Linked DNA regions of Homo sapiens: regions 2, 3, 4, 5, 6 and 7 are each linked to region 1. Evidence: promoter capture Hi-C in 16 types of primary human blood cells and fetal thymus (Javierre and others, 2016). All regions are on one chromosome and are shown on one strand. The core of a region is centred on a gene start or on the middle of the fragment in contact, and the rest is flanking DNA. Distances in the headings are between cores, read along the strand shown.

Region 1 (4,111 bases), core at 1,408-3,907:
CACGGTAGGTTCTCGAGCGGGACGCGCGGGTCCGGAGGCTGCGGTTTTCCCTGGGTTTGGGGAATGGGGGTAGGAACTAGGAGGGAGCTGGGGCCAAAGAGCCAAGCGGGCTGGGACTGGAATGAAAGCGCTCTGGGTTGTGGAGTGGGTCGGGGGGCAAGGGTCCGCGCTAAGGAGCCGAAAGGGGCCGGCCGCCCCCTTCCCCTATGCACCGGCGCGCCACTGCAGATGGCTCACCCTCCCCCGCCAAATCGCTGCTCCCGCCGGAGCTGCCGTCGCCATGTCGTTGAACTTGAATGGTTCGTCCTCCCCTTTTCCCTCTTCGGCGGTCAGCAGGCTCCATACTGGGGGCGCCGGGCTGCCTGCACCCCACCCCGTGCCGCCAGTAGAGAGAAGGTGCGAGAATTTTGCGAATCCCCAGACACATAAAGACCCGGGTTGAAGTCCTCGCAGCTGCCCTGGGTCCTGAGCTACCGCAGGGCCAGTGTGCAGCGTCCAGGGAGCCATTTTAGGAGAGAGATCCAGGGGCGTCGACCACGAGCCCGAAAGGGAGAGGCTTGGGCCTGGGATGGAGATGGGGAGGCAGATAAGTGTGCTGGGGGTCTGGGTTGAGGAGAAGAATGTCAGCTGGAATCTGGGCGGGGGTGCCAGCTGCGGGGAGGGAGCACACAAGATGGGCAGTTCTAGTTGGGGGAGGCTCGATGCCCTCCAGTCGCCACAGACCTATTTGCGCAGTGTTGGGGGAGGGAAGAAGACATGGGAAGGGGCGGAGGAAGGAGAGAGGAAGGGAGAAAGGGAGGGAGGAGAAAAAGAGGAAGGGGGGGTACATCAGCCAGAAAATAGATATTAGCTCAGACCACCCGCCTTTTCTCTGTCTGTCCGCACGGTGGGCAGAGCGCACAGCACCGGCACTGCAGCAGCCCGGGCCAGGGAGGGAACCAGCATCACAGCCAGCGCCGCCTGCCCTGGGTATAGGACTGAGGCCCAGGCCCCAGCGCTGGGATTGCCTGGGCGGAGGAATCTTGGGGAAAGGGGCAGCCTCCTGCCCTCGGTTCTGGGATTTGGGTTTGGGAAGAGACGGTTTACCTTTGAAAAGCGTCTGCTCACTCGGAGGTGGGATCCCAGGCCTTGCCTGGACCCATGGGCTAGGAGAGGGTCGCGGCAGGCTGGGAGGAGAGTGAGGCCTTGGGGGAGTGGATGGGGTGCCCCACGAAGAGTCTGCCTCAGAGCCAGGTGACACAGAGGGGCTCCAGGAGGGAGTCAGGCTCCGCTGAGAGCCCTTAGAGAGACAACCTATCTTGGGGGAGGGGCTGAAGTGACCATGCAGACCCAAGGGTACCAGAAGAGCCTCGGGGAAACGCGGCGTGGATTCGCAGGCCTTGGCGGGGCTCCGAAGCAGTGAAGGGTCTAGGTATAAGGCGGACACCCAGGCTAGGCCTGAAAGCAGAGGGGTGAGGAGGACGAAGGTGCGAGTGTGTGGGGGTTGTCTCTTGTGGGGAGCCAGCGGGAAGCCAAGCACCCTAAGAGTAGGACTCCAGATCCTTTTGTTCACCAGACTCCCCAGATTCTAGGGAGGCTGGGGACCACGGGCTGAGCCCCCTCCTGGCTTCAGTGCTGAAGGAGAAGGCAGAGAGGCAACGGGGAGAGAGACAGAGACAGTGACACACAGCTTAGAGGAAAGGAGGGGAGAGGATGAGAGGACAGAGAGAGAGAGGAGAAGGGAGACAGGAAAGCAAGAGGAAGGAAGAAGGAAAGCGGAAAAGAAGAGGAAGGAGAGAAGTGAAGACAGGAGAGAGAAGGGAGAAGACTGAAGAGAAACGAGGCAAGGAGAAAGAGAGACAAGAACAGAGAGGGAAACCAGAGAGAAGGGAAGAGAGCCGGGTGGGCACGAAGGCCCCGGCCTGGGTGAGTGCCTAGGTGGTGAATGGCCTGGGTTTTTCCGAGGCCAGCACTCGCACCCTTGGGGTCAGAACCGGAAAGAGCCAAGTCACTCCACTCTGAACGCGCTGGGCAGAAAAATATGTAAATCAGGGCTCCCTGCGCCCTGGAGAGTGGCGAAATTACTCCCGCCCGGTGAACAAGAAGCAACAAGCTCCCAGGCGGGTGAGCTGCAGAGGGTGGCAGAGTCGCGGGGGAGGGAGCGGCTGCAGTAAGGGGGGTGGGGTTCGGAACCTCACACCCTCACACCTAGTTCCTAGCTTCTAGGGAGCCTGGAGCCGGGGCTTCCCCCCCTCTGCTCGCTGCTTCTCTCCCTTCCCCCTTCCTCCCCCTCTTCCCCCTCCTTCCTCCTCCCCGCCGGCCTCGGTCCGCGTACTTAAAGCGGCGCGGGAGGGCGGACGCGGGCGGGCGGCCCGTTCGGGCGGTGGCAGATGCGCCCAGCGGTGACAGCGGCCAGCGGCGCGCAGGTGACCGGCCTGAGGCGCAGCCTGGTCAGGGAGCGCCCGGGGAGAGCTGGCGGCAGAGGGCAGCCGATCCGCCCCCAGCGCGCGCGTCTCGGCGCCAGGAGCCGTCCCGGGGCGTGTTGGCGAGCGTTGATATAGATATAAGGACATTTCTCTTCATGGCGTCACGTGACATAATTACCACCAGAATCAATCAAGATGAATTGCACGTCAGCGCCCGGTGGGGATTTTTGCTTAGTTGATCCTGGCCCAAGCCTCTTGTGCAATCGATGGCTCAGGTTGGCTGCGCGGGGAGCGGCCAGAGGCTCGCTGGCGCGCACGCCGCGGAGTCATGAACGACTTTGACGAGTGCGGCCAGAGCGCAGCCAGCATGTACCTGCCGGGCTGCGCCTACTATGTGGCCCCGTCTGACTTCGCTAGCAAGCCTTCGTTCCTTTCCCAACCGTCGTCCTGCCAGATGACTTTCCCCTACTCTTCCAACCTGGCTCCGCACGTCCAGCCCGTGCGCGAAGTGGCCTTCCGCGACTACGGCCTGGAGCGCGCCAAGTGGCCGTACCGCGGCGGCGGCGGCGGCGGCAGCGCGGGGGGCGGCAGCAGCGGGGGCGGCCCCGGCGGGGGCGGCGGCGGCGCGGGGGGCTACGCTCCCTACTACGCGGCGGCGGCGGCGGCGGCTGCGGCGGCCGCGGCGGCCGAGGAGGCGGCCATGCAACGCGAGCTTCTCCCGCCCGCGGGCCGCCGGCCGGACGTGCTCTTCAAGGCGCCTGAGCCGGTGTGCGCTGCGCCGGGGCCGCCGCACGGCCCCGCGGGCGCCGCCTCCAACTTCTACAGCGCGGTGGGCCGCAATGGCATCTTGCCACAGGGCTTCGACCAGTTCTACGAGGCAGCGCCCGGGCCCCCGTTCGCCGGGCCGCAGCCCCCGCCGCCACCCGCGCCGCCACAGCCCGAGGGCGCAGCCGACAAGGGCGACCCCAGGACCGGGGCTGGTGGCGGCGGGGGCAGTCCCTGCACCAAGGCGACCCCTGGCTCGGAGCCCAAGGGGGCAGCAGAAGGCAGCGGTGGCGACGGCGAGGGCCCCCCGGGAGAGGCGGGGGCCGAGAAGAGCAGCAGCGCAGGTAGGCACCGGGTACTGGGCAAGCGGTGGGCCCGGGGGCCGCGGGGGAGGGGGGGGGGGCGGAGGCCTCCCTCTGCTTGCGCCTTTTTATGTGCTACTTTATAAGCATTCGAAGAGGTTTATACATCCTATAAGATTTCCTGGGCCGTTGTAAAGTGTGTTTATGGTAGGAAACCAATTTAGGTGGGCTTAAGGTAGACTTCGAGGAGGACATTAATAGCTGTCGAGAGCCTTTTCCCAGTTTTGGGCAGGGGGTTGCTAGATACCATGGAGGGAGGGAGGGAGGGAGATTTCAAGCCAGTGTGAGTGCATACACCGGAGCCTCCTGCTTTTAAGGGAGAGAGGCGGGGGGTGGGGAAGTGGGGGGAGTTTGATCCTTGCACTGGACTTTATCCAAGCCGCTAGCTGACGCGCGCCGCTGGAGTCAAGCAGATGCCCCGGCGGGCCTGCTCTTGTCTCTGTTCCCTCAGGTTCCAGTTTAGAGCCTGCCTTGCCCTCTGCTTCCCCACCTCCGTGCCAGGCTCTGTGTGTGTGTGTGTGTGTGTGTGTGTGTGTGTGTGTGTCCGGGCGTGAACACATGTCCACGCCCGCACTCTCT
Region 2 (4,111 bases), core at 708-3,207, 1.7 Mb before region 1:
GTATATCCCTGTGAAACCATCATCACAATCTACACTATAAACATATCCATCACCTCCAAAAGTTTCCTCCTACCCTAATAAATTTTTCTATTTATCTTCATTTAATATAGTTCCTTTATCCTTAGTTAATAAAGAATGCTAGAGGTCACCCCCTCTCCCCATAAAGTGTTAACTATCTAGAAAGGTCTGCTAATCAAAAACATTTCATTCTTCTCCTCTATCCTGGGAAAAGTATAAAACAGATCAAAGAGGCCAACAATATTTGGTACATTTTACATAACACTTTACACAGATGAGAAGAATGTAGGTTCTAAGCCTATAACTGCTTTACTGAATTTCTCATAGCGGACTTGCAAAAGTTATTCTCTGTGGATTTCTTTTTTCTTGTAAGAAAGCTGATACATTGAAATTTATAAAGCGAAATGTCAAAAGTTCCAGTAAAAAATTATGATTTCTCAGGTATATTTGTCTCTAAATATAAACAGCAAATAAGCAAGCACCTGAATTCCATCTAATCTCTTCATTCTTGTAAAAATAGTAACAGCTGACCCCCTAAGTATGCAGAGAAAGGAAATGTCTGTGTTTGGTGTCAAAAGTTATTGAGCCAACCAAATACAAGAAACCTCTCCCTCCCACAGTTGCAACCACACAAACACAAACTGGTGCAGTGGAAAAAAAATCACTGGGTTAATCAGGTGTTCCAGATCCTAGTTCTGGTACAACATTTAACTAGCTGTGTAACTCTTGGCAAATTTGTTTCCTCATTTATAAAATGAGGAGATGGGGCTGGATGATTACCAAAGAGCTTTCAAGGTGTATCTGTGTTATTAAAATTTCATGGGGGAGTTATTAAGAAAAAATGTTTAATAAGACTCCTTAGGAAGGTAACAGTGAAAAAAAAGTTGAGAATCACTGGTCTAGAAGTGAGAGTATATAGCAGTATCTCATCACCTCAACTCGTTCTAAAAACAAATAAAAGCTTAGTTATTTTCACAAGTTTCTATGTAGGGGCAATCAACATTTTATTGAGCACCTCCTCTCTGTAGTGGACACAGTGATAGATGCCTACGTTGTTTCAAATCCTTTATCTTCACTATTTCACTTAATCCTCACAATTAAGTCAATCATCCTTAATTTACAGATTAGAAGACTGAGGGTCAGATATTACAAATATTTTGTGCAAGGTCTTAAGGCTAAAAGTGACTGCTCGAATAACTAGAATCCAGGTTTGACTCCAAAGCTGATTCTTTCTACTTCACTCTTTTGCTTTTCATTACTATGATATTCACCAAAGTATTACAACTGGTAGACCTGTAATTATGTAAAACACTAAACTTCAACGAGTTTAGTCATCAAAAAGACACTAGATTATTAGGTAATTTTTTTAAAGATCTATCTTAAGTAAACGGGGAGGCTTCTTTGTACAGAAAAGTAGAGTTCAGAAGCCGTGATCCCTGGGATCCGAAAAGACAAAAAACCAGAATCAGCTGAAGGAAGTACTGAGGAATTTTGACATTAGTCTTCGCATATTATGGATTTGCATTCTGGCCGACAAAGATTCTCTAGGCCACCGGTCTCCTCGCTGTTGCAGAATAAACGCTGAGGACCCGCTGCGTCAGCGAGCTGCTCAGCAGAGAAAGGCGAGACCACCAGGGCTTTAGGCCTAGAGAAGCGGAGGCTGTCCTAGGGATCTCAGAGACACCATCACTTTCACTTCCAGCAGCCTCTGGGAAGGCGGTCCCTGTGGGCCTAATCCCTCCCCGGGTCTGTTTACTCACTTTTTTGATATTGGATTTGGAGGCAGGATGAAAGTCTTTCTTGCACATGAAGTTGGCGAAGGATTTCCCCATCTTGGAACTGGAACTAGGGAAAGCAGGGGCTAGATCTGTTAGCAACGTAAACAAACTCAGCCGCCTAACCGGAACTGCGTTTCCAGCAGCAAGGGGGAACTTCCGAGATCAAAGGTGACAGCTTCCGGCAACTGATGCCTCCACTGGCCACTCCTCCCTCCGTCCACCTGTCACTTCGGGTAGCTGGGAGGCCAGGTGAGGGGCGCGCACGGGGGAGGGGCGTGCATAGTTGAGACAGAAACCCGGAAGACCCAACTGTGGCGCGGCACTGCTTGACCGAGGGGCTCCGGAGCCCAGCTGCACCGGCTGCGGTTTGAGCGCCCAGGGCCGGGGTGCGGGGTGGACCGCGGCGGCCCTTCGACCAAAGGTGCTTGAAGCTCGAGCCCATTACTTTCTGTGGACTCTGACTCGAGCTGCAAAAGCTTTTCTGCACTGTTTTTCTCATCTATGTTATGAAGATAATAATTCCGGCCCTAACCGTAGTATGCTTGCGAGAATCCAACAATATGATGTTTCTGAAAGCGCCGGCTGAACTAAGAGCGCGTGAAATAGAATGACAGACAGCTCTGCAAGAACGGAGGCCCTGTCTATTTTGTACCCAGCTGTACGGTACTGGCGCCGAAAGACGTTCAATAAATACTTATTGAATGACGAATACGCGTTAGGAGTTGGTAAAATCTCTCAAGGCTTCACCTCCTCAGTGGGCTAGGTGCAATTCTAACCAGGGGGCAAGTTTCCTTAGCTTTCCCTACGACCCCAGTTAGGCAGCTCAGGTTACTATTGCAGCTTGATGGCCCTTGGGACTCCAGGTTTTTGAGTGGACGTGGCTGCTACTGCAGCAGGTGATCCACCAACCAAGTTCTCTATCAGGGTAATGTTAAGAATAAACCTTGGCCGGGCGCGGTAGCTCACGCCTGTAATCCCAGCACTTTGGGAGGCCAAGGTGGGTGGATCACCTGAGGTCAGGAGTTCAAGACCAGCCTGGCCAACATGGTGAAACCCCGTCTCTACTAAAAACACGAAAAATTAGCCGGGTGTGGTGGCACGCGCCTGTAATCCCAGCTACTCGGGAGGTTGAGGCAGGAGAATCACTTGAACGCGGGAGGCGGAGGTTGCAGTGAGCCAAGACTGCTCCATTGCACTCCAGCCCGGGCAACAAGAGTTAAACTCCATCAAAAAAAAAAAACAAAAAACGAATAAGCCTTTATGAGAAATTTTCTCTCCTACCAAATAATAACAATAACAGCTTTCATGTGAGTATCTACTATGTTCTATGCACTGTGCAAAACACTTTACGTGTTGCCTTATTAAGTTCTCATAACAGCCCATCAAATAGTGTCTTATTTTTCTGATGAGGCAGAAGGCATAGGTAAGAGAGAGATTAAATAGTCTGCCAAAGTTATATAGTGATAGAACTAACTATAAAACACAAATAGAAGGAGATCCAGGACATAAGAGTTGAAATACAGAAAGAAAATAACAGAAGCCATCAAGACATCAGACTTCTCGTCACTGAGGAGAAGAGGAAAACCCTTAAGAGTTTCAGTCTGAAGTTTTTATTTAGTCATTTTCTTTTCTTTTTAAGGAAACATTTATTATATTTAAATTTTGTTTTTAAGTTGCTAGCATCTGCCTGTGTAAAGCCATTTTAAGGTTTTGCCATTATTAAAGGAAAGAAGGAAACTCTGTAAAACAATGTGTCTGTTCTGGCAGCAAAATAAGGACCTTTAGGTGTTCTATTATAAGTGAAGATCTAAGATTTTCCAAGTTACAACTGAAGAGGTAATCTAGATATTAAAGTATATAATTGCGATTTATAAATTAAATATGTGAACTTTCTCCTAGAAATATCAGCAATTTGGAATTATATTGACATATTTTTGTCTGAATCAATGAGTCTGTTTCAAAATTTCAGTCTCATCAGAATTATAATGTGTATTATTTCCCAGCTCAAATAAGACCCCTTCTTCCTTCCTTTGAGGAAGTACTGGGCACGTAAGATTTTTTTCCATAAGACAAGTTCCAGCAAAGAGAATATAAAGATTAGTAAGACATACTCCCAGCCCTCAAGGATCTCATTGTCCAGTAAAGGGATTTATATATACACGAATGTAATGGAATCTAGCCTTTACAACAATAGAGCTAGGTACACGGATTCCCAAATATGGAAATGGTGAAACGAAATTCAGGGAAGACTTTAGGAGAGAAAGGTCTTAGAGAATAAATGTGAACTATACAGTAGAAGAAGGTAGTTCTCATTG
Region 3 (4,111 bases), core at 1,155-3,654, 1.4 Mb after region 1:
ATGATTATTTAAAGACTACTCTTAACTATTACTGAGATAGTGCTTGGTCCCTGAATGATGTAATCCTTGTGCAAAGACCCCTCAAGATACGTCAAAGCACAAAAGATAACAGAGGAAAGGAAACAAACGTATTACAACTTCTGATATAAACATTCCTCATAAGTTTGGAATTTTTCATAACTCCTGGGGTAAAAGTTCTTAGAATATGTCACTTTCTGGGAAATTTAACAGCAAAAGTTTTAGCTACTTTTTTTTTTATAATGCATAAGTGTACAAAGTTCAACATGTAACAAATATAAAGATGCCAAAGGGTAAATAAAGCGATGCAAATTTACATAACAAAGCCATTTGATAAATGCCACTATCAGCTATTACTATATATTCCATCCTATAATCTCATAAATCAAAGCTTTTAACTGCCTAGACTCATATGTGACTGTATTCTTTCCAACATGCATTCTTTCTTCTTCCAGGGGTTGTTCAATAACAGCAGGTATGTTTCTGCCATGAAGTTCACAGTGTTCTAGAAACTGGACACATTCTTGAATAACACTATCACGAAGCATGATTGTGTGTTTTGACATGTTTTCTAACAAGGACAGGAAGCATCTTTTGGCATAATACCAGGTGTCTGTTCCCAGCTTTTTGTTGTAAGGTTCCAAGCTTTTGATAACTCGAGAAATACCAAAGTCATAATTTCCTTTGGCACAATAAAGAGTTCCTATCACCAAATTCACAATGCAGAGATGGTACATTTTCTTATCTGGGTCATCATAAGAGAGCTGCTCTTCCTCCTTTTCAATCTTCCTCATCAACTCCTCTGCTTCTTCATTTTGACTTGTCATAATATAGGAAACACAGAGATTAGCCAGTACAATAGCACTGACATTCAGGATGTTATCATAATGCTTCTTGACTATGGGTTCATAGAAACCAATGGCTTCTTTGTATTTGTTTTCCTGCATGAACAGAACATGAGCCACATTCAACTTCCACACATCATGGTCGTTACAGAATTCCACAGATTTGCGGAAGATCTTTTCCACCATTGGATAATTTTCAAGATTCCAGTAGATTTTTGCCTGAGCCATCAACACAGGAATGTATTTCTCCATGGTTTCATCATATTCATTCACTGCCTTTTTGATAGCTTCATCATCTCTATTGTGTCTTGCTTCCTGTACTTGTATGGTAAGTTTCCGGAGGACCTCAGTCAGCATCCCTGCTAGCCCATCAAGCTTAATGAAAGCCTCTTCAGGAGCTGTCTGGCAAGTGATCACAGCGTCCAAGAAGTCATAGAGATAGGGTGTGAGGAACTTATAAATCAAATGGGCATTTTCTGCCAGGACATCTGCTGCCAGGTCAAAATACTCATATTTACAGTAGAGCAGCAACAGGTTGCCAAAAGTCTCTGGAGGAAAGGGATTCTGTTGGAGCAAAAACTGTAGCTTTTCAAACCCTTCTGTAGGCCTGGCATCCATGTTCATTAGTGCCTGGTTGTGTAGGGTCACAGGGTCCAACTCTTCCTCTGCCCTGGGTGGCATGTCAGTGAGGGCTTCTTGAGCTGCCTCATAGTTTCTCAGTTGGTATTCTATAGCTGCCTTAAGGTTGAAGGCTTCCACCAGAGCAGTCTGATGGAGGACTAAGGTGTTGCCAACACTGCGAACATCAATGCCCTCAGTGGTCATGCCCACACCTAGCTCAGGGTGCTGGCGGATGCCACGCTCAATAATCTCAGCGATATGCTTCAGTGCTGAAGCATACTGTCGGCTGCTGTAATAGGCCAAAGCCAGGTTGTAGGAAAGGTCAGGCTGGTAGCCCGAGGCCTGCAGGGCGGCAAAAAACTTGGAGCATGCAGCTTCATACTGTCCCTCCTTGTAGAGCAAACAACCCAGGTTGATCTGGCCATCGGTCTCATTCTCGCCCCCACTTTCCTCTCCCCCTTCCCTACTCGGCAGCTGCTCTACCAGGCTCCTGGACCCTGGCAGATCGCCCTCGCTGTACTTGATAGCAGCTTGCAGGCGGAGGACCCGGCTGTGGTAGGCGGGGTTATCCAGGAGAAGGAAGGCGACCCGGGTGGCCTCCGCATAAAGGCAGGCCTTGTACAGGGCCTGGGCCTGGTACAGGCGGTACTGCTCCAGTTCCGGGTGCAGCTGGCCCAGCTGCTCATAGCACTCGGCCGCCAGCGCGAACTCCTGCAGGCGGTAGTAGCAGTAGCCTAGCAGCGACAGGCCGGCGCGGCTCCTAGGGCTCCGCTGCAGTTCTCCGCCCAGCAGCTGCACCGCCTCGGCGTAGCGTGCATTGCGGATGAGGCGGTACACGACCGCGGTGAACTCCCCGTCGGGGATCTGCGCGCCGCTCAGGCCAGCCATAACCACCACGGCTGTTATGGGTGCGGTTACTATGGCAACAGAGCAACCGGAAGCGGAAGACTGCCGGTTTCCTTGTCGCAAGAAATCTGTTAGGAACAAAAAGGGACCACTCTCGTCAGTCTCTCAATTTCAGCTTGATCTTCAAATACTCTGGACTGCGGAGTGGCGGCATTCAGGAGGGGAAAGACTACTCCGGGCCGTTCAGAGACTGAATCTACTCGTCCCGGCATGCACCGTTCCAGTGGTTCCGCGGCGCGGGTCGTAGCCGCGCTGCATGCTGGGAGACGTAGTCCCGGCTGTACCTACCGAACCGGCGGCCCGTGGGGGTGCAGGGTAACTCTCCTTCCCTGCCTCTTAAAGATGAGGGGCGCTCACTGTGTCTGTTATGGCACCGTGGTCTCTGGCGCGGCGGAGGAAGGTTTCCGGCCCCATGTTCCTGGCGATTTTGAGCCTGGTACACGGTGTGGTCGATAATAATGCTGGCTTTTGGTTTAGTTTCAGTAAAAGAACCGGGATGGCAAAAGGCGAGTTATCTCTTGGAATTACCCTGGAATTAGAGCACGTTCTTTTTTGCACTACCCCGAGGGCACAGTTTGTAAGAACGGAATAGAGCGGCGAGCAGGAATCCTTAATTTGGTGGTTTCCAGAGGTTAATGAGGAAAAAGGACTGTGAATCTTGATTGGTACTGGGAGAGTTTCGGTTTTAGGTCCAAGTATCTCCCGCTCTTTTTTCCCGTAACAACAAATATTACTGAGTATATATTGGCGTTTACCCTTGGCCATCCCCATTGCGCTGGAGTTCCAACTTTCACTACTAGGTAGAAACGTTGGAGAAATGCATGACTTCAGTTTTTTCCAAGAGGGGAAAATCCAAGACATTAAAATGTGCTCCTTTCCCTATGCATTTTTACTCTTCTCTCTTAACTACTAAATTAGTCAGCCAGTGATGTGTGGGTGTGTGAGAGACACACATGCTCAGTTTGTACTTTTCAGCCTTCTAGGGATTTTGGATATTGAACTGATAAATATGGATTTTCTTCTGTTAAAATAAGAAAAGATTGCCTACACTTTAATTTTTTTTCCAGATTCTTAGTTTGAAGATTTCTATGCAGGTTTGCTAGACTGTACAAGATATCATTCTGGGTTTTCTTTCATTCTTTGTTATATATTTGGAATAGATGCTGTAGATTCCATGTTATTATCCTGGGGCTATTTTTGTATAATTTTTTTTCAGTTTATTAGTGGCCATGATGGGGCTGTGAAAAACTAGGGGCTTAATTATTCCATAAAATTATATTTAATCACCAATTTAAAAAATACCCCTAGATAAACTGACCTGGAGACCATAGACTTTAAGGGAGAATAAATACAATTTTTCAATCAAGAATTAGGGACATAGACAAGATAGCAAAATATGAATTTGGCTTATCCCAGTGAGGTACTTGTAAATAGTGTAGTTTTCAAGGTAACAATAATAGTTGTAATTCATTAACATCTATCATATGGTGGCCTGGGACAGAGCATTGTCTTTTGTAGTCTTCCATGATGTCCATTGGCCTCACTACCACCCATGATAAACAGTCCAAGTCAGAGCATGTCTTTGCTATATAATTAAATACTTCAATGCAGGTACCTTACTGCCTCTTCAACAGTATTGCTGTTCATAAATCTTTTCTACATATAAATTTTGGAGCCAACACCAACCATATTGCATCACATTCTATTAGACCACCTATATA
Region 4 (4,111 bases), core at 488-2,987, 1.3 Mb after region 1:
GAAATTCTTCCCAGAACTCAATCCTTAAGAACCAGGAGTATAGTTTATAATTAAAGTGAAAATTTATTTTAGAAAGTTCAATTTTAGAATCTATAAAATAAAAAACAAAAACCCCAAGCCTACGTAAGTAATTTTAACGTAAAATGTTAATGGCCCCAAACTCTAATGGTGGAATAAGGACAATAACATGAAGTATATGATATTTGAGATAAAATATAGCTATTTAAGAAAAGCTTCTTACTCTCCTTGAGCCTTCATCTATAAAATAAGGATAATAAAACTGTGTCATTGTGTTACTGCAAAGATTGATTAAATAGATACGTATAAGATGCCTAGGTTATGGCCATTTTTTATATTTAACAAATTCCTAATTCTTTCTTGTTTCTACAACTGTACTAAATTATTTTAATAGCTGCAAAAGTATTTTAACATATTGACTAACCATTTCTCTGTTGCTAGACATTTGGACTGTTTTCAATGGTTTGGTATCTCTTCGTATATAAATTTCAGAAGACATTCGGACCTCCTGTAAAGGCCAGGTAATACATATTTTGGGGCTTCTGGGACCACATAAGGTCTCTGTTGCATATTCTTTTAAAAAATTTCTTGTTTTCTTTTAACAACCCTTCTCAAATACAAAAACCATTAGCATGAGGGCTGTGTAAAAACAGGCCACAGACTAGAGCTGGCCCTCCAACAGCAATTTGCTTAGCCCTTAATTGAGAGTTTTTAACCAGTCTGGGCCTCTTTGGAAGTTCACTCTAAAGGCATAATCTCAATTTTAGAAGCTGGCAACACCCAAGAGAGCAATTGTTAGTCTCTAGTCCCATGGATGTGGTGTTCTTCAGATTCCTCTGCCAATATTTTTCTTGTTAGGAAAGCATGATGTGAAAGTGGTGACAGGATGGAGAATGACAATGGCCAGTGTATGTGAGTTTTTGTCTAAGCTAATTCTTATGCAAGACACCGGCTGAAACAGGTGAGGAGCACTTTTCACGTGCTATCTTCCAGAAATGAATTCAATCTGTAAATAACTGAGATGTCTTCACAGCTCTTGGGTAATTTTTGTCTGTAGCAATAAGAAACTTTATCTCTATTAAAGTTAGGAAGGGGTTAGGATCCAGTAATGAATGAAATGAGAACTTAAGTTGCAACTCAGTTTCTGTACTTACTTGTGATCTAGCATTAAACACAGTGCCAGGCACGAAATAGGTGGTGAGAAATAAGAAAATGATAGAGCTATTTGCTCTAATGGTTAGAGGCAATGATGGTCAGCTTTGAGTTACTTTGGTGACCCCGCAGGGAGGAAGAGCACAGGTGGAACATTAGAATCTCTTTCAGGAAAAGGATGCCGCTGGATCCATCAGGTCCAGTAGCACTGCCCATTTCTCCTGCTCCAAGGCATCTGCCCTCGAAAGCCCCCAGGCCACACCCGAGGACACCACCCAGGGTTCTAGGACACCTCGAGGGCGGACGTGGTTTGGCTCTCGGTCCAGCTGGACCGGGCTGGGCCAACCGGGAGTCAGCTCGAACTCACCTGCTTGGCAGGTGCGCGCTTCCCGAGGCGTGACAAGGGAGCGCCGGCGCGGTGGGTGGGGGGCAGAGAATGTGAAGCTCCAGACGCATGGCACCCGCCGCCAAGTCGCCGCGGTGGCTGCCGGGATGCGCCGCAGCGAATGGTCGCGCCGGGCGCCGCTCTGAGTGACCTTTCACCCGCGCCCAGCGGTTCCGGGCGGCAGCACAAGGCGGTAGCCATGGCGGAGGCGGCGGCTGCAGCGGGTGGGACTGGCTTGGGCGCGGGCGCGAGCTACGGGTCTGCAGCGGACCGGGACCGGGACCCGGACCCGGACCGCGCCGGGCGGAGGCTGCGGGTTCTCTCTGGCCATCTGCTGGGCCGGCCCCGGGAGGCTCTGAGTACCAATGAGTGCAAAGCGCGGAGAGCCGCGTCGGCGGCCACGGCAGCGCCCACGGCCACTCCCGCCGCGCAGGAGTCGGGCACCATCCCAAAGAAGCGGTGAGTAGCGGTATGTGGAAGGAGTTAGCGTCGAGGGACCAGGCCGGGCCTGTGCTGCAGGAGGGCACAGGCGAGGTGGGAAGGGAAGTGACACGGGTGGGCGGAAGGCATCCCGGTCCCTGAAAGTAGGGACCCACCTCTCTTTCGAGAGAGTGGACTAGACCCTGGATTCTGTCAGGAAGGGGGCGGGATGGGATGGTGGATTTTGGTCACTATGTGAGGGTAACAGGCTTGAAGAACTCTCGTTGGAGAAGGGTTTAAAGGATTCCTTTTTCCTGAGCTTTTAGTGCCAGGAATTCATTTTTTATCTTGAATTAATACTTTTGGTGCTGAGGTCTTGGAATGGGTAGCAGAGGTTCTATTTTTCTCCGAGGAGATATAAATTTGTACTAGATGATAGATCATAGGAATCTCTCTCATTCGCGAAAGCCTGCTGTGGGGGAAACTGGTGGTGCCCTGGAAAAAGGTGCTGACTGGTTTCTGTGGGGTAAGTTCCACTTGCTTAGGATCAAGATGTATTGACTTTGAGGGAGGAAACCGATGAATGGTAAGAAGCCATAAACTGCAAACACTAGCTAGTGGTTTAAGGTGTGGTGGTATAGCTACTGAGCTCTGTGTAACCAGAAGCTAAAAGACAAGAGTCTAACCGATGAGGGATGTTTGTAAGAGATCTTGACTTTCGATGTTTTTGGAGAAATCTTTTTTTTTTTTTTTGTATTTTTAGTAGAGACAGGGTTTCACCGTGTTAGCCAGGATGGTCTCGATCTCCTCAATCTCTGATGAAGGCTATTAGGAGAAGCTACTTTCTGACGTGTGGCTTTGTCACCGTGGATAAATGGATAAACCGAGAGTGAAAAAAATAAGTAGCTAATGTTTAAAGTGTACTTTTAAGTGTGCCAAAGTGTGCTAAATCCTTTGTTTCTTCCCAAGCTATGAGGTATGTGCGGTTTTCTCCCATTTTACAGATGAATAAATTAAGTCTGCTGGAGTCTTAGCAGATATGCTGTGTGACAGGTTAGAATTTGAAAGCACATCAAATTGACTTCATGGCCAAGTTCCTAAGCTATACTTGCTTCTGATGAATTAATTCAACATACATGAGTCTTTACAAAATACACACTGTACCAGCAATACAGAAATTTAAAAATACGGTATTTACTCTTAAGGAAGGAATAGCTTAGTAGGTAAAATTATAATACAGCGTTATAAGAAACTTAACTGGGAACTATACCACCTGGTCATTTAACCCAGTTTTGGGTTTGTGTTTGTTAGTGCAAAGATGTTCCAAAGTAAAGATTGTCTGAGTAAATTTTGGATGTTTGCATTACTAATAGTTTGCCAAAGGGGGAAATTGTTCTTGGCATACAAACAGTATGTTCACAGGTAAAGAAGTGAGAGACAAATTAGGGAACTGCTGAGACTCAAGTGTAGTAGGAGAGGGTGAGAATGACAGGGGACGAAGACTGGAGAGGTGAATCTTGTTTACAGGATTTTACGTGGGGCAATACATGATTAGATTTACCTTTGATAAAGGTCACACTGGGAGCAAATTGAAGACAGTTGAGCATTTTGGCAGTATAATGGCTGGGAACATAGACCTGGATTTCAATTTCCACTACACCGTTACAGCTCTATGATCTTGGGCAAATCACTTAACCTCTGAGAGTTTCAGTCACCGTCATTTGTAAAAACGGGAACAGTAATCCTGTTTTGCAGTGTTGCTGTGAGAATTGAAAAAAATAGAGTTAAATGATCAAGTGTTTAGTGCAATGCCTGTTACATAACCTTTCAAAGAATGGTAGCTGCAATTTTCACAGTGTCTAAAGGCAGAGAGACTAGGAGACTATTATTCCAGGGAGAAATGCTGGGATTCTGAACTAAGGCATATTATTGGGAGTAGGCAACTTAATTGAGAAAATGCTAGGAGGTAAATTTTCCATAACTTGGTTACTGAGTGGTGGGGAGGGGAGGAATAAAGGATTTCATCTCGTCTCCTGGCTTCAATTGAGGTTATATTATTAATAGCTGTCATTAGGTTTAAAATTTTCTAAATGGTTTCATGTACATTTATGTGTTCTCATTTGTATGCATATATGT
Region 5 (4,111 bases), core at 578-3,077, 1.2 Mb after region 1:
AAGAATACAATCCCAATGAAGACTGGGGAAAAGTTCAAGACAAACAACTTTAAAGGGGGAAAAAAGCACAATTAATACATTGTCCATAACTTAAAACTTTACAATAGATCTTTGGAATTAACCGAAAACTTTACATTTAACAGCATAAACGTATTTACTGTACATCAAGTACACATTTCCTTGAATTCCAATTTTTTTCCTAAAATTCATTTACAAAAGAAGTTAGAAATATAAATATCTACTTTTAAAGTTTCTACAAAGGATGAGCAGAAACTTCTTTTCACTTTTATAACAATTCACAGAAATTAGCAAGTGTTTTGAAACGCAAGCGTTCCACTCTCTGCCCCTGCAGAAGAGGGGGAACATGTTAAGAAATTGAGGCAAATTCTCAACTGAAAAGGAAACATATATAAAGTACTCAGGGGAGAAATAATAGCTGAAAGCAAAAAATTACTAACAGACTAAAAGCAACAGAAATTCTAATCTACACTCGCAACTCTTACCCTTGACAGCACAGAAGAGAATATCCCGTCTTACACATTTTGGAATTGCAATTCTGAAACGCTAAATCCAAAGACAAAGCCGCTCTGGGGAAAATAGCAATTGCGCAACAGATCAACAGCTCCAACCTGTCCCTTGGCCCTGGCGCGGCGAGGTTTGCACGCTATAAAGCAGGAAAGGGCCAACCGAGGGCTGCTGTGACGGCCAACCGAGCGCTGTCACGGAAGCCAAGGCCACGCGCGCGGTGAGCGCCACCAGGGGGCACCGCGTCCGAACTAGAAGCCCCGGGTGCCGCCGACTCCGGCCTCAGAGTCCACTGCCCTCGCCCGCACTTTCCCGCGGCGTTACGAGGGGCCAACTCCGGGTGCCCGAGCCCGAACCCCTCCCCGGCCGAGAAAGTGCGCGGGGCCCGGCTCAGCCGCCACACGTCGGGGCTTCTGAGCCCGCTGGGCACTTAAGGCGCTCCTCCCTCGTCCCGGGGCTGGGCTTTCAAGAGAGCTCAAGGCTGCCAGAGAGTGATCCGAGAGATGGATGACTTCGCAAAGCCGCGCCCACAGACGGCCCAGCGGGGTGAGCGCGTCGCAGCCCGCACTCAAGGAGGTCTTGGGGCGCGGCGAAGGGGCTCCGGGTCCCAGCCCGAAGGCGACCTCAGTTCCCCCGAGAGCGGCCCCGTGACTAGGCACATTTTTGCCGGCACCGAGGCGGGGGAGCCGCGCAGCCCCGGAAGGGCCGGGCCGCGCCGGCTCAGACGGCCAGCGTCCGCCCCCTCTTGCCCCGCCGCCCACCGGGCCGCTCAAACTTAGGGGCTCCGGAGTCCCAGCTCTCGGGCCCGGGGACGCGGCTGGATTCTCCCCCAAGGCCCACGCGAGCGGGCTCAGTCCCCAGACCTTCCCGCAACTTCCCACCCGTTCGCCCTCGGGCTCGTGGTCGGTCGGATCACCCGGCCGCGTCCCCGCTGCCCCTCCCCGCCCTGCCCCGGCGCAAGCGCGGCGGCTCTACCCAGCGCCGCGGTCCTGGCTCTGGCCAGACGTGGGGGAAGCCGGTTGCGGCTGTCCCTCCCGGGCCGCGGTTCCCTAGCTCCCCCGCCCCCGTCCCGGCACCACCGCAGGGCCCAGAGGGCCGAGGCAGCACCTGCTGGGACGGGAGTCCCGGCGGCGGCAGCTCCAAGTCCATCATGATGAGCTGTGGACCGTGTGTTGGGGCTCCCCGACGGCGGCCCTGTTCCGGCTGCCGAGGCGCGGCGCGGACAGGGCGGCTCTGGTGGCGGCGGCGGCGGCGGTGGCGGCTGCGTCGGCGGCTCCTCCGGGCTCCCCGGCACTCGGTAATCGGCTACACGCCGGCGGGCCCCTGCCCCGCTCCGCCTCCCGCCCCACAAGGGCGGGGCAAGAGTCCGGGCCCTTCCTTCCCCCGCCGGCCGCGCGGGCTGAGCTTCCGAAAATCCCCCACCCGCGCCGGGGCTGACGCAAGAAGCTCGCGGTCCGGGGGCGGGAAGGGACTGCCAGCTGGGGTCCCAGCAGGCGGGGGACCTAGAGGAGGTCTCCGTTAGCTCCCCGGTGCCGGCGTTCAGTTTGCCCTCCCCCGCAAATAAGGGCAGCGCTCTCGCCCGCGAGATAAAGAGTTGTTTGCGAAGGTCGCTGGAGTTCGGACGCTTTGAAACAGTTTAAACAGTTGGAACAAACACACCCGGAGCCCCGGAAAGGCGTTGGTGTAGGAGCTGCGCCTCCCTGATTTGGAGTTGCAGAACCTTGCCCTGCTTTTATCTCACTTTACCGCCCGAGAATGGCGCCAGCCGGGGTGGGGGGGGCTAAAGATTTGGACCCAGACCGTGCCACTGCCAACTGCCCTCCCGCCCTTGCTCCCTTCCCGGGCTGGGGCCAGTGGGCCCTGCCTAGGGGAGATGTGGACAGCTCCGGCAGCTCGTGTTCGCAGTCACCCTGAACGCCCTCCTCTGAACTCCCACGTGTCTCCATTCTCCTAAGCTCAGGTCGTCAAAGGCAAACGGAGAAGCCCCTTTAGGTCGGAGAGTGGTCAGTATTGCCCACCCAGAGCTGGGAGAAAAACGGGAACCCCAAGAGAACCTCTTCCCACCAAAGCGCAGCCACCACGCCACAGATGGCGCCCTTCAACAGTGTGTAATACCACAACATGCTGTAATCGTTTACTCTTTACAAATTTCTTTTTCACGTACTCACAAAATAGTACAAATTAAAAAAAGTTACAAAAACGTTTGTATAGTATTGGCTCATTTTATAAAAACGTGCCTAGAAAAAAATTGAAGGTTACCAATATATTAAATGCTGTGGAATCAACGATTTTTATGTTTCTCCTTGTTACTTCCAAGTATGCTTTAAATCTGCAGTGCGTATGTTTTATGTCTTACATTAAAAACAATTATTTAAAAATTAATCATTGCCCAGAGAAGACTTCAAGTATTTGAAACGAGGAATATTGTGAACTCTTATAAGGGTTCAAAGAGGATAGATAAATGGTTTAGTTTTGTTTTTTTCTTCCTCTTCTGCATTTACAATCTTTCTAACTCTATACAAGACTGGTTTTCAGTTTCTAGCTTCCTGGAATTATTCAAAACCAGGTGAAGTAGATAATACTGGCAGTGGTTTTGCTATTTCATTCAAAAACCACACACACACCCCTGACTATAGCAATCAACGCCCAAAAAGCTGCAGAGCTTACTTTCTCTAGGTTGCATAATTTGACACTCCCAGGATTTATGTGTAAATTTGTATATTCAGATATTCCTTGAGATAAGTGAAGCCTAAATTAATTACTTGTAATTGAAGCAAGCTTCTTTAACTCCTATTAATTCCTTTCAGCTGTTATGTGAAAACCCTGCAACATGATCTGCACAATGAAAACAAGTTAGGAGAAAACTGTTTGCAAAGGACCTCACATGAAAGATGCAGAGACATAATAATAAAATAACATTTCTGAGTCCAAGAAAAAGACAAGAGTAAATTGTTAACAATTCAAGTTACTTATTAAAATTACGACATCAGAGAAGGTAGACAATGAGCCTAGTAGGTAGGAGATACCAGAGTCATATGACATGGTTACTGCTCTAAAGGAGTTTATAAAGTATTTGGTATTTCCTTGTTAAGCCACAAAATTTCCATTGAGTTTAGACTGAATGAAATAACCTTCACTTTTCCAATGCTGCAATTTGCTGAGAGTGTGTTATTTCAGGCATCTGCAGAGTACATATTTTCAAAGGGAGGGGAGCAATATGATAAGAGTTTGAACTTGTTTAAGAAAAACAAACACTAAGGAAAAGCTGTTTGGCATTTGGTTTAGCCAAATAAAGGGAACCCCATTCTCAAGACCACCCACGTCAAGGAGGTGCCCAATCTTGGCAGACTCTGGAATGTGATTGTCTTCATATGAGAGCCTGAGCCCTTGCTTTGCCCTCCAAACCTGCCTATTGTGTTAGGAGGGCACAGATAATGCATGTTGAGAAGCTCTGGAGGAGCAAGAAAGAACAAGAAAGAGGAGGTGCTGGTTTTTCTCTCCTGTCTTGCTGCCATGGGATCCTTTTTTGCTGCCAGGCTCTCCTCGCTACTATTTGGGAAAAATACCCTCCAATTGGTTTTATGTT
Region 6 (4,111 bases), core at 854-3,353, 1.1 Mb after region 1:
TAATTTTTGTATTTTTTTTAAAAGTAGAGACAGGGTTTAACCGTGTTGGTCAAGCTGGTCTCAAACTCTCCACCTCAGGTGACCTGCCTACCTCGGCCTCCCAAAGGCCTGGGATTACAGGTGTGAGCCATGGCGCCCGGCCAGAGCTTGTTTAGACAAAAGCATAAAAAATAACTAATGTCTAAAAACAGCATACAGTCAGGATGAACAACAAATCTGGACCAATACAATAGGGAGGACAAAAAGATGTGAATAAATGGGCTGACATTTCATGTTCCTGGAGAGAACTTAGTATCCCATCCCACATTGTTTCGCGATTTAACATTAACATTTATACAAAAGTTACTAATTAGAACAAAAGTTATTGATTAGAATTAACTTATTAGAAAAACCTGGACAAACATACCCTAAAGTGCAGCCAGGTGATCACTCTTCTTGATCACCTATGTAATGTCTCATAGAGTACTCTGGTGTGAATAGCAATTTCCAAAGGTCTTTCACTTTGCATTTTTCTTTGTATCCAGAATCGATAAAGTTACCAGGACTATTTCACAGTAATTAGACTTACAAAATCTTAACACTAAATAGACGCTAAGGCTATACATTCTTCCAATGTCTCAAGTCTATTGCTGGCCATCAGGAGCACCTGGATACGTAGAACATAAGAAAGTTTGCGAAAAAGGAATCAAAGCAACAGGAGGAGTCTGGTTTGAACGGTTATTTCAACCAAATTACATTAAGGACTGCTAACTGTTTTCTGCCCCACAAAAATACCCTTTGTAAATGTTTCCAAACTATAACACAGGTCCTCCTGGAGCAACGGCTAGATAAATTAACAAACTTTTAGACTTTACGCTCCCCTTTTCCAAACTCCAAGTCGACCACTCCCCATTTGTTAACAGAAACTTACTATAACTGATTAGATTTCTAACCTTTCCTAGGGAGAGCCAGTTCAATTCTAAAAGGGTTGGTCACATGGGTTGCTAAATTAAAATATAAAGCATTTCCTAACAGGGAAGGGAGGCTGGTCAATTGTGGTTATTTTTATCAGTAACTTTAAATATGGATCCATAGATTATCAATTTATGGCTGTCGTGGGTGTTAGAAGATGACCTAATCCCATCCCCATTTTCATTTAAAAAACTGAAACTAAAGCTCTGTAAAATCAAATGATTTAAAATCATCTGACTAGGCCGAGAAAGGATTAGCTCTCTAGAGCATTACGGTAACAATCATTCGCAAACAGGTAGCATTATCTGGCGACCCTGCTTTTCTGGAAATCTTGTCAATTATTCAGTTCCTTAAATTCCGTCAGCTACAACAGATGCATCAGCTCTTTCCACACTAACTTGAAAGAAGCACATTAGAAAATAGTCCTGACTTGTTTCTTGAGATCAGTAACTAATGAACTGACCTCCACCAGTCCTGCCTCAGGTCGTTAATGGTAAAAATTCTGTATGTCAGCCGCGTTTTGAGGCCTGTCCAAGGTGCTTGTGAGTCCCACATGTTGGAGTCGCAGGGCTTTTCAGTACATGCCCTCAGGCAGGCGGCGCAGTCACAGACACTGGTCCCCGGCATTTGGAAACAGGAAAGATGGTCCGAGGGGCCGAGGAGTTTTTCTTGCAACCTTTAAATTACAAGCAAGAAAAACGTGGGTTTTATTTCGGGCACAGGAATAGAATGAATTCTGAAATGGAGAACTAGAGGCCTGCGTGGGGAATGAGGGACAAGCGCGAGAAGAAAGGGAAAGGCCTTTCTCTCTGGTGACGCGCGATCACAAGGCGTTCCCTCTACGTGGACGCTCACCATTGGCGGAGACCGCACTGACGTCCCGGAACTCGCCCTGACGCGAACGGCGGCAAAGGCCCTCTTCCCCTGAAAGCTGGCGAGGCGCGCGCGCTCCCGCGGCACGCCGCGCCTCCGCCCTCCGCCCGCCAACCCGCTGGTCCAGTCCCTCTTCGCGCCCGCTTGGCTCCGCCCCCTTCCCAATTCGCTCCTCCCCCAACAGACTGGCGGCGCGCGGAAAACGCGTCACGTGACGACTGGCCCCGCCTCTTCCTCTCGGTCCCATATTGAACTCGAGTTGGAAGAGGCGAGTCCGGTCTCAAAATGGAGGTAAAACCGCCGCCCGGTCGCCCCCAGCCCGACTCCGGCCGTCGCCGTCGCCGCCGGGGGGAGGAGGTATTAGGGGGAGAGCGGGGGGTTGGTGGGGAATGGCCGGCGTTGGGGGCCTGGTTCGGTGGGAGCGGGGAGGCCGGGTGGACCGGGTCGGCCGTCCCGCGCTCTTGCGTTGAGACAGGCTGTGGGAGGGGGAGGGGAGCGAGAGTTGGAGACCTCCTTGGGGCCCCTCGCCCGCCTCGCCTTCACCTTCGGCTGCACAGGCGGCCCCTTGGAGGCGCGGCTTGGTCGGGGAGGCCTCGGGAGGGAAGCCGGCCTGCCGGCTGCGCGGCCTCCGAAGCGAGGCCGAGGGCGGCATGGCGGGCCCCGGCGGGAGCGGTTGGGAGGAGGTGGTGGGGGAGGGGAGGGGACGAGCAGGCACATCCGGGCGAGCGAGCAAGCGGGCGGCGGCCACATTGACATTGATCCGCCGCCGCGTTACGAAATGGCGCATTGGCCCGCAATGGCCGCCGCCTCGCTCTGCCGCCGGGAAAGCGAGCCTGGGATTGGAGGGAAGAGGGCGGAGGCGGCCCGGCAGAAAAAGCCGCAAATGGCCTCGAAGCATGGGGAGGTAGTGCTTTCGCTGAAGTTCTGCCGACGCTTTTCTAGGCCTTTTACGGGTCCTCTCCGCGAGAAGTCGATAATTGGCCTTTTCTTTTTTTCGCAGCATCCTGTTGGAAATACGAGATTGTTAAAAACTTTGCTGCTTTAAAATACTTCCTGATATATTTTTGCTAAAGTACTTACATTACACTTCTTAAACCGCCATGTGGGCGAAGGACTTAATTTTTGAGAATTTGAGTGTAGATGTGAAAAACAACCCAGCCAGCTCCTTCCCGGCTCCGGCCGCTGAGGAGGGTGGGTGGAGAAGAATTTGAGTATAGTATGTTAAGGAAGAATTTAGAAATGTTTTTTATCTTCATGTTTTCCCATTCTTTGAGTCGGCTCTGGTTGTAGTTTCCTGGAATTTTATTTAGAGGACTGCAACCAGAGTTGAAATTTTCACGTTTTTGCAGTACATTTAATGTGGATCCTAAATATTTTTGTCGATTTCGTTATTGTCAATCGAATACATTTATCCAAGACTTGAAAAGATGAGATTACATGAATTAATGCTTTAGGCTATTAACGTTTTTTTCTAGCATGTGACAATCTCTTCACATTAAACGGTTTAACATCTCTACCTCTAGGAGACACAGGAAGACATTAGAATGTAAATGTGAGCCCCTTATTTAAGAACTTCGGGTGAAGGAAACCTTAATGCATGCATTAAATGACAGTTCATGCAATGTGTTAAAAAGTCTTGACTAAAGTATAAAACAATTTCAAGACATCTTAATTCTTAAAAATCTCAATTTTTGTTTTGCTGTACTCCGTTCTTATAGTCAGACAATACATACCATTCCTAATGTAAGTCCAACTTGCCAGTTAGTTGTGACTCTTAAAATTGAGTTGTAAATTGCAGATTTTTGCAGCATATAACAAACATGGGTTATAGAAAGCTATTTGATCGGCTTTTTTTTTTCCTCAGTTTTTTTGGGAAATGCTGGTTTGGCTTAGGAATGCCTGTTTTAAATTAATTTGCTTGAAAGCAGTGAGTTTCTGTAAGTTTGACATTCAGAACTTTTAGATTGTTCTTCATCACAGTTTTGAGTTTAAATGTATGGGCCGGGCGCTGTGGCTCACGCCTGTAATTCTAGCACTTTGGGAGGCCGAGGCGGGCGGATCACGAGGTCAGGAGATCGAGACCATTCTGGCTAACACGGTGAAACCCCGTCTCTACTAAAAATACAAAAAGTTAGCTGGGCGCGGTGGCGGGCGCCCGTAGTCCCAGCTACTCGGGAGGCTGAGGCAGGAAAATGGCGTGAACCCGGGAGGCGGAGGTTGCAGTGAGCCGAGATCGCGCCACTGCACTCTAGCCTGGGCGACAGAGCGAGACTCAGTCTCAAAAACA
Region 7 (4,111 bases), core at 534-3,033, 1.1 Mb before region 1:
TAAATAATGCTTAGATACAAGGTACTGAGAAACAGCGAGAATTTTATTATTTTTCAGAAAAAGAAGACACTTTTTTAAAGTACCTATGGAGGATCATCACCAAGTAAGAAATGGCACTTCTAGTAATGCACTTGGGCACAGTAAACACAGTCCCAGACTGAAGCCTGGTGAAGTGAATTCTAGGCTCAGTTTTGCCACAAAAGAGCCATGTGACTTTGGGAAACAACCTCTCTGGGTCTAAGTTTAATTTATAAAATAAGATAGTTAAATAAAAGTAACACTTTGATTCTAGCAGCTTAATTCACTGGGAAGTATTTACCTCAAAAAGCATTTGAGGTATGTAACACCTCTAACGTGTTTGATCAAATGACATAATTAAAACTGAACTGGAAACTTGATATTGTGAATAACTTACTTAGGCTGTTCTCGTAGCTATCAATTACATATCATTGTACTTTGCTTCTTCAAAAAAGCTGAATACTTTGAACGTCTAATGTTCACATATTGAGTTTTCTTAAAGTCAGGTACGTATGTACCATAGTCGTTTTGTAAAAGGAAAGAATGTATCTTTTCAGTCCTTTTTCCCAACCCATTGTCATTGCAGACTGAGAAAAAAACAGCTTGAAGTCTTAACCACCAAAAGCAACAGTGCTGCAGTAATTACACCACAAAAATAACATTTCATTCTTAATGAATACTCAGTCTCCTGAGATTACAGTTATCTTCTGGTAACCAACTTTATTCTGTCTGCTCTCATTCGTTAGTGCAAACATTTTCAATTTTAACCCATATTCAGTTCACAAATCATACTTATTTCCAACGGAATATACTGAGTCCAAAAAAAAAATTCCCCAATAGTCCAACAGGAAGCAACACATGCATTTGGCAATTCCAAGGAGGCTGGGGACTCACAGATACCTCGTTCAAAATAAATAAACTTTCCAAGGATTTATTTACCGACGGGAAAGGCAGGTTTGAAAACAACCAGTTAACTTCACTCCCAAGTTGGCATCTTAGAGAATCTTTGTGCGTTTGCAAAACACCCAGGACCTCTGAGCCTCCCAGCCGAGAATTGGCCAGGGGAGCACACGCCCATCGGCCCTGCCGGGAGAGGAAACAATGGGAGAGGCGCGAGGGAGCAAGCCGGCGCCCCGGGCGCCCCAACTCTGCGGCCCCGGCCCGCCCCGACCCCACGCGCCGCGCCCCCTCCCCGGGCGCCCAGGCCCCCCAGGCCCCCGCCCCCGAGCCCCGGGACGCGGCCCACCTGCGGCGGCGCGGGGAGACGGCTGCACTTACCAAACAGGGTCAGGGCCATTGTAAAGGCGCTCGCCGCCGCCCGCGAGTCCAGGCGCTCCTCCCAGGCGGGCTAGGGATCACCTCATCAGCCCGCCGCACCCACACCTCGGAGAGAGTGGGGTGCCCGATGGGGCGTGCTGGGGGCGCCGGCGCCCGGGGAGGCTGCAGGCCGGGACGCGGGGGACCGCTGCAAGAAAAAGTTATTCACGCGTTATTGTCGGGCGCACCGGGCCCAGGGAGCCCCGCTAGCTCTCCGCGAGCCGGCACTTGTCGCTGCCATCAGGCGCGGAGCGTGCGCGCGGGAGGAGGTACCTGCGAGGCAGGAGGCTTGGCCGCGGCGCAGTGGCTGGCGGAGAGGCGGCGCCGCACTGGCGGCGGCGGCGGCGGCGACGGGGAGAGCAGCAGCAGCCTCGCACAGCCCCCGGCGGGGCGCGCTCACTCCGCATCCCGCGGCCTCGCAGACGCCATCTTGCGATAGCGTCTCCCACGAGCTCGGCCGCGCCGCTGCCTCCCGCCTCTCCCTCGGGCTTCCCGGTCGAGTGCGTTCCCATGGCAACGGGCGCGCGCGGGGGTAAGAGGGTGCGCCCTCATTCCCGCGGCTGCGAGGAGCCACCAGCGCCCCCCTGGAGGCGGCCGCCCGGAGCGGGATGGAGCGGGGCCGGTGTGCGTTTTAGCTGAAAGCCCAGGTTTTTTCTTGAATGGAATTTGAGGAGGCGCAGAGAGGAGAAAAACGCTGTTACTCGAAAGAGGAAGAGTCACAGGAGGATGCTGAGTGAACGCAGCGCCCAGGCAGGGTCATCTGGGGACCTGGTGCGTGTGAGAACATATTTCTTCTCCTGGCGCCCTCCAGGCTCACTGTGGCTGGAGCCGGTGACCTGAAGCTGCAGGGCTCTGGTAGGAACAGAGGCACTGAAAGCTGCATTCCTCTCCGTTTGGACTTAGGAGCTGCTAGTAGTTCTGATGAAATTGACACACATTAGGAAAAGGAGTCGCTTAAAAAGCATCTGAGATTACCTAAGATAATTTGTTAAAAGACCAATGCTTACACCTGATTTTCTTCCCTTTACATTATACCTCTTTGATATTGTCTCAAGGAAAAAAAAATCAGCATGTGTCACTGACTGGCACTTATTTGCCACAAAAGATTGTTCCCCTGAGCTTCTTGTATTTATCTGATAATCACTGGCAACGTCCTCCTTTCTGTGATGTTGTCTCCTCACCTCTGTCTCTGCCATGAGGAGCCATACAACGCCTTGAGATTGTCAGCCAAAAGATGTTCTTGAAAAGCTGGGTTATATGTTTTTCGTCGTTGTCGTTTAATGTATTCAAAAAGTCATTCTTCTCTAGTTGCTATATGTGTTCCCTGTTTAAGAAATTCCTTCTTTTTTCTTGTTTCTCTGCTTAGGGATTTGATACTATTTTGGTATCTGATCATGTAGATCTTCTCTTTGGTTCTCCTTTCTTTCTACAGGCGTCTTTCCTCTTAGTTCCTCAGGTTCCCTAGTGTCTTCTCTCCCATTTTCAAATAATTCTTTAAGAATATTATAGAAATATCTTGTATTTAATGTATCTTAGAGATCGAATCCTGATAAAGTGGGAGATTACTACAGTACTTCCAATGGAACCACAGTTAATTCACCATCATTATTTCAAAGCAGACTTAAGCATCAGAAGAAAAGCAGGTTGGAAGGAGGAGCCAAGCCTTTTGTTTCAAGTCAGTTAACTCAGGAAGAAAGAAATATTAAAATGATTCAACATGAATGGGCAAGTGTTTAAGATGCTATATGTTTGGAATTTTGTGATGTAAAATGGCTCTCTTTAGCCACTAATCAAAATACATCTTTAAAATCCCCAGAATTTAAAATCTTTCATGAAAATGGACTCTTGATTTTGAACAACCTTTCTGCTCATAAAAAATTACAAACACACAGCTCATGAAAATAAATGAGAAACTCAAGAAAGCTTTGTGGGATAGATTTTATAACCATATAAAGATTGCTGCTAATCTGCTCTGCAGCCAAATAAATCAGAAACCGAAGACTCCATTTACTGTTTCAACTAGTGGTCTTCAACATTTTTGGACCAAATTTCCTTTTGAGGCTCTAATGAAAATACTGTCCCTCCTCTTAGAAAAGTGCTTGCATACATACACACATTCACCGGAAATTTTTCACATAATTTCAAGGGGATTATGGGCTATTCAGGGACCTTAGGTGAGCCCCTGGAAGTGTTTTTTGTAATCTCAGAAAGTTTTTGCCTTTATAATTTAAAGGAAAATATTTTCCTTCAGAATAGAACCATTGAATTTTGAATAGGAAAAGACCAAAACTCCCATGATTTATAGGTAAAAAAATTGAGTTCCCCGTAAAAAGATTTTCCCAAATGTGTTCACCTATTTAGTAGCAGAACCAATGGGAAAATCTTAGATTTCTGGTGTTCTCACCGACCACCTTCCCTACCCACATCCCGCATCAATTTAGAGGTTGCATGGTTTGAATTTCAAAAGAAAAATCTGTTTAGTATTAGAAGCAAAATAACGAGAGTATTTTGTCCTTAGCCATTCTGCATAGAGTTTGGGAAGTTGCATTTTGTCTCAAAGAGTTTTTATTAACATGCCCTTCTACTCAGAACTATGTGTCCCATCATGCTAAAAGAGAAACAATGCCTTTCTCTCCTCTTTGTTAAGCTCTGTTAGAGCATCAAGGTTTTGGTGCTGCAGCTCAGCTTGCTAGTAGCTCTCTCCATCCCTTGAGGGGTTGTCCTGGGAGTGAGACAGAGAGAAAGGAGCTGCCCTGCACTCAGATTTACCCTCCCA

What was found. Contacts are between HindIII fragments. The CHiCAGO score rates a contact against its expected background, and 5 or more counts as called.
Region 2: the fragment with the promoter of SCRN3 here is called in contact with the fragment with the promoter of HOXD11 in region 1 in 1 of 17 cell types (total B cells); the score reaches 8.2 in total B cells.
Region 3: a contact is called between the fragment with the promoter of IFT70B here and the fragment with the promoter of HOXD11 in region 1, in 1 of 17 cell types (naive CD8 T cells). The highest score is 5.4, in naive CD8 T cells.
Region 4: a contact is called between the fragment with the promoter of AGPS here and the fragment with the promoter of HOXD11 in region 1, in 5 of 17 cell types (naive CD8 T cells, naive CD4 T cells, non-activated CD4 T cells and 2 more). The highest score is 10.6, in naive CD8 T cells.
Region 5: the fragment with the promoter of NFE2L2 here is called in contact with the fragment with the promoter of HOXD11 in region 1 in 4 of 17 cell types (naive CD8 T cells, total CD4 T cells, M2 macrophages and 1 more); the score reaches 7.8 in naive CD8 T cells.
Region 6: the fragment with the promoter of HNRNPA3 here is called in contact with the fragment with the promoter of HOXD11 in region 1 in 1 of 17 cell types (naive CD4 T cells); the score reaches 5.3 in naive CD4 T cells.
Region 7: a contact is called between the fragment with the promoter of CHN1 here and the fragment with the promoter of HOXD11 in region 1, in 1 of 17 cell types (endothelial precursors). The highest score is 6.1, in endothelial precursors.

What each region holds. Positions count from the first base shown.
Region 1 is chr2:176,104,623-176,108,733 of GRCh38, forward strand. It overlaps HOXD11 (homeobox D11), which reads left to right and starts at 2,658. Exons shown (of 2, transcript NM_021192.3): 1 at 2,658-3,514. The coding sequence starts at 2,734. RefSeq lists an enhancer at 1-514. The HindIII fragment of the contact is 7,005 bases long and covers 1-4,111 here.
Region 2 is chr2:174,393,773-174,397,883 of GRCh38, forward strand. It overlaps SCRN3 (secernin 3), which reads left to right and starts at 1,958. Exons shown (of 8, transcript NM_024583.5): 1 at 1,958-2,045. CIRSR (corepressor of RBPJ and splicing regulator) reads right to left here and starts at 1,940. Exons shown (of 10, transcript NM_004882.4): 1 at 1,779-1,940. The coding sequence starts at 1,850. RefSeq lists enhancers at 1,839-1,888, 2,386-2,886. The HindIII fragment of the contact is 1,293 bases long and covers 978-2,270 here.
Region 3 is chr2:177,550,392-177,554,502 of GRCh38, forward strand. IFT70B (intraflagellar transport 70B) reads right to left here and starts at 2,405. Exons shown (of 1, transcript NM_152517.3): 1 at 1-2,405. The coding sequence starts at 2,372. The coding sequence ends at 375. RefSeq lists enhancers at 1,405-2,209, 2,210-3,013, 2,382-2,671. The HindIII fragment of the contact is 6,507 bases long and covers 1,237-4,111 here.
Region 4 is chr2:177,391,036-177,395,146 of GRCh38, forward strand. It overlaps AGPS (alkylglycerone phosphate synthase), which reads left to right and starts at 1,738. Exons shown (of 20, transcript NM_003659.4): 1 at 1,738-2,014. The coding sequence starts at 1,755. It overlaps LOC100130691 (Putative uncharacterized protein FLJ44553), which reads right to left and starts at 1,656. Exons shown (of 9, transcript NR_026966.1): 1 at 1,538-1,656. RefSeq lists silencers at 1,738-1,957, 3,166-3,460. The HindIII fragment of the contact is 4,249 bases long and covers 232-4,111 here.
Region 5 is chr2:177,262,900-177,267,010 of GRCh38, forward strand. It overlaps NFE2L2 (NFE2 like bZIP transcription factor 2), which reads right to left and starts at 1,828. Exons shown (of 5, transcript NM_006164.5): 1 at 1,633-1,828. The coding sequence starts at 1,677. RefSeq lists an enhancer at 1-1,001 and silencers at 682-841, 1,102-1,971. The HindIII fragment of the contact is 5,708 bases long and covers 1-3,301 here.
Region 6 is chr2:177,210,691-177,214,801 of GRCh38, forward strand. It overlaps HNRNPA3 (heterogeneous nuclear ribonucleoprotein A3), which reads left to right and starts at 2,104. Exons shown (of 11, transcript NM_194247.4): 1 at 2,104-2,181. The coding sequence starts at 2,110. It overlaps MIR4444-1 (microRNA 4444-1), which reads left to right and starts at 2,036; the gene lies at 2,036-2,109. It overlaps LOC105373759 (a long non-coding RNA gene), which reads right to left and starts at 1,721. Exons shown (of 1, transcript NR_157853.1): 1 at 705-1,721. RefSeq lists silencers at 1,742-2,531, 3,937-4,006 and an enhancer at 2,071-2,742. The HindIII fragment of the contact is 9,993 bases long and covers 1-4,111 here.
Region 7 is chr2:175,003,598-175,007,708 of GRCh38, forward strand. CHN1 (chimerin 1) reads right to left here and starts at 1,784. Exons shown (of 13, transcript NM_001822.7): 1 at 1,297-1,784. The coding sequence starts at 1,315. RefSeq lists an enhancer at 954-1,500 and a silencer at 1,485-1,544. The HindIII fragment of the contact is 4,598 bases long and covers 1-3,256 here.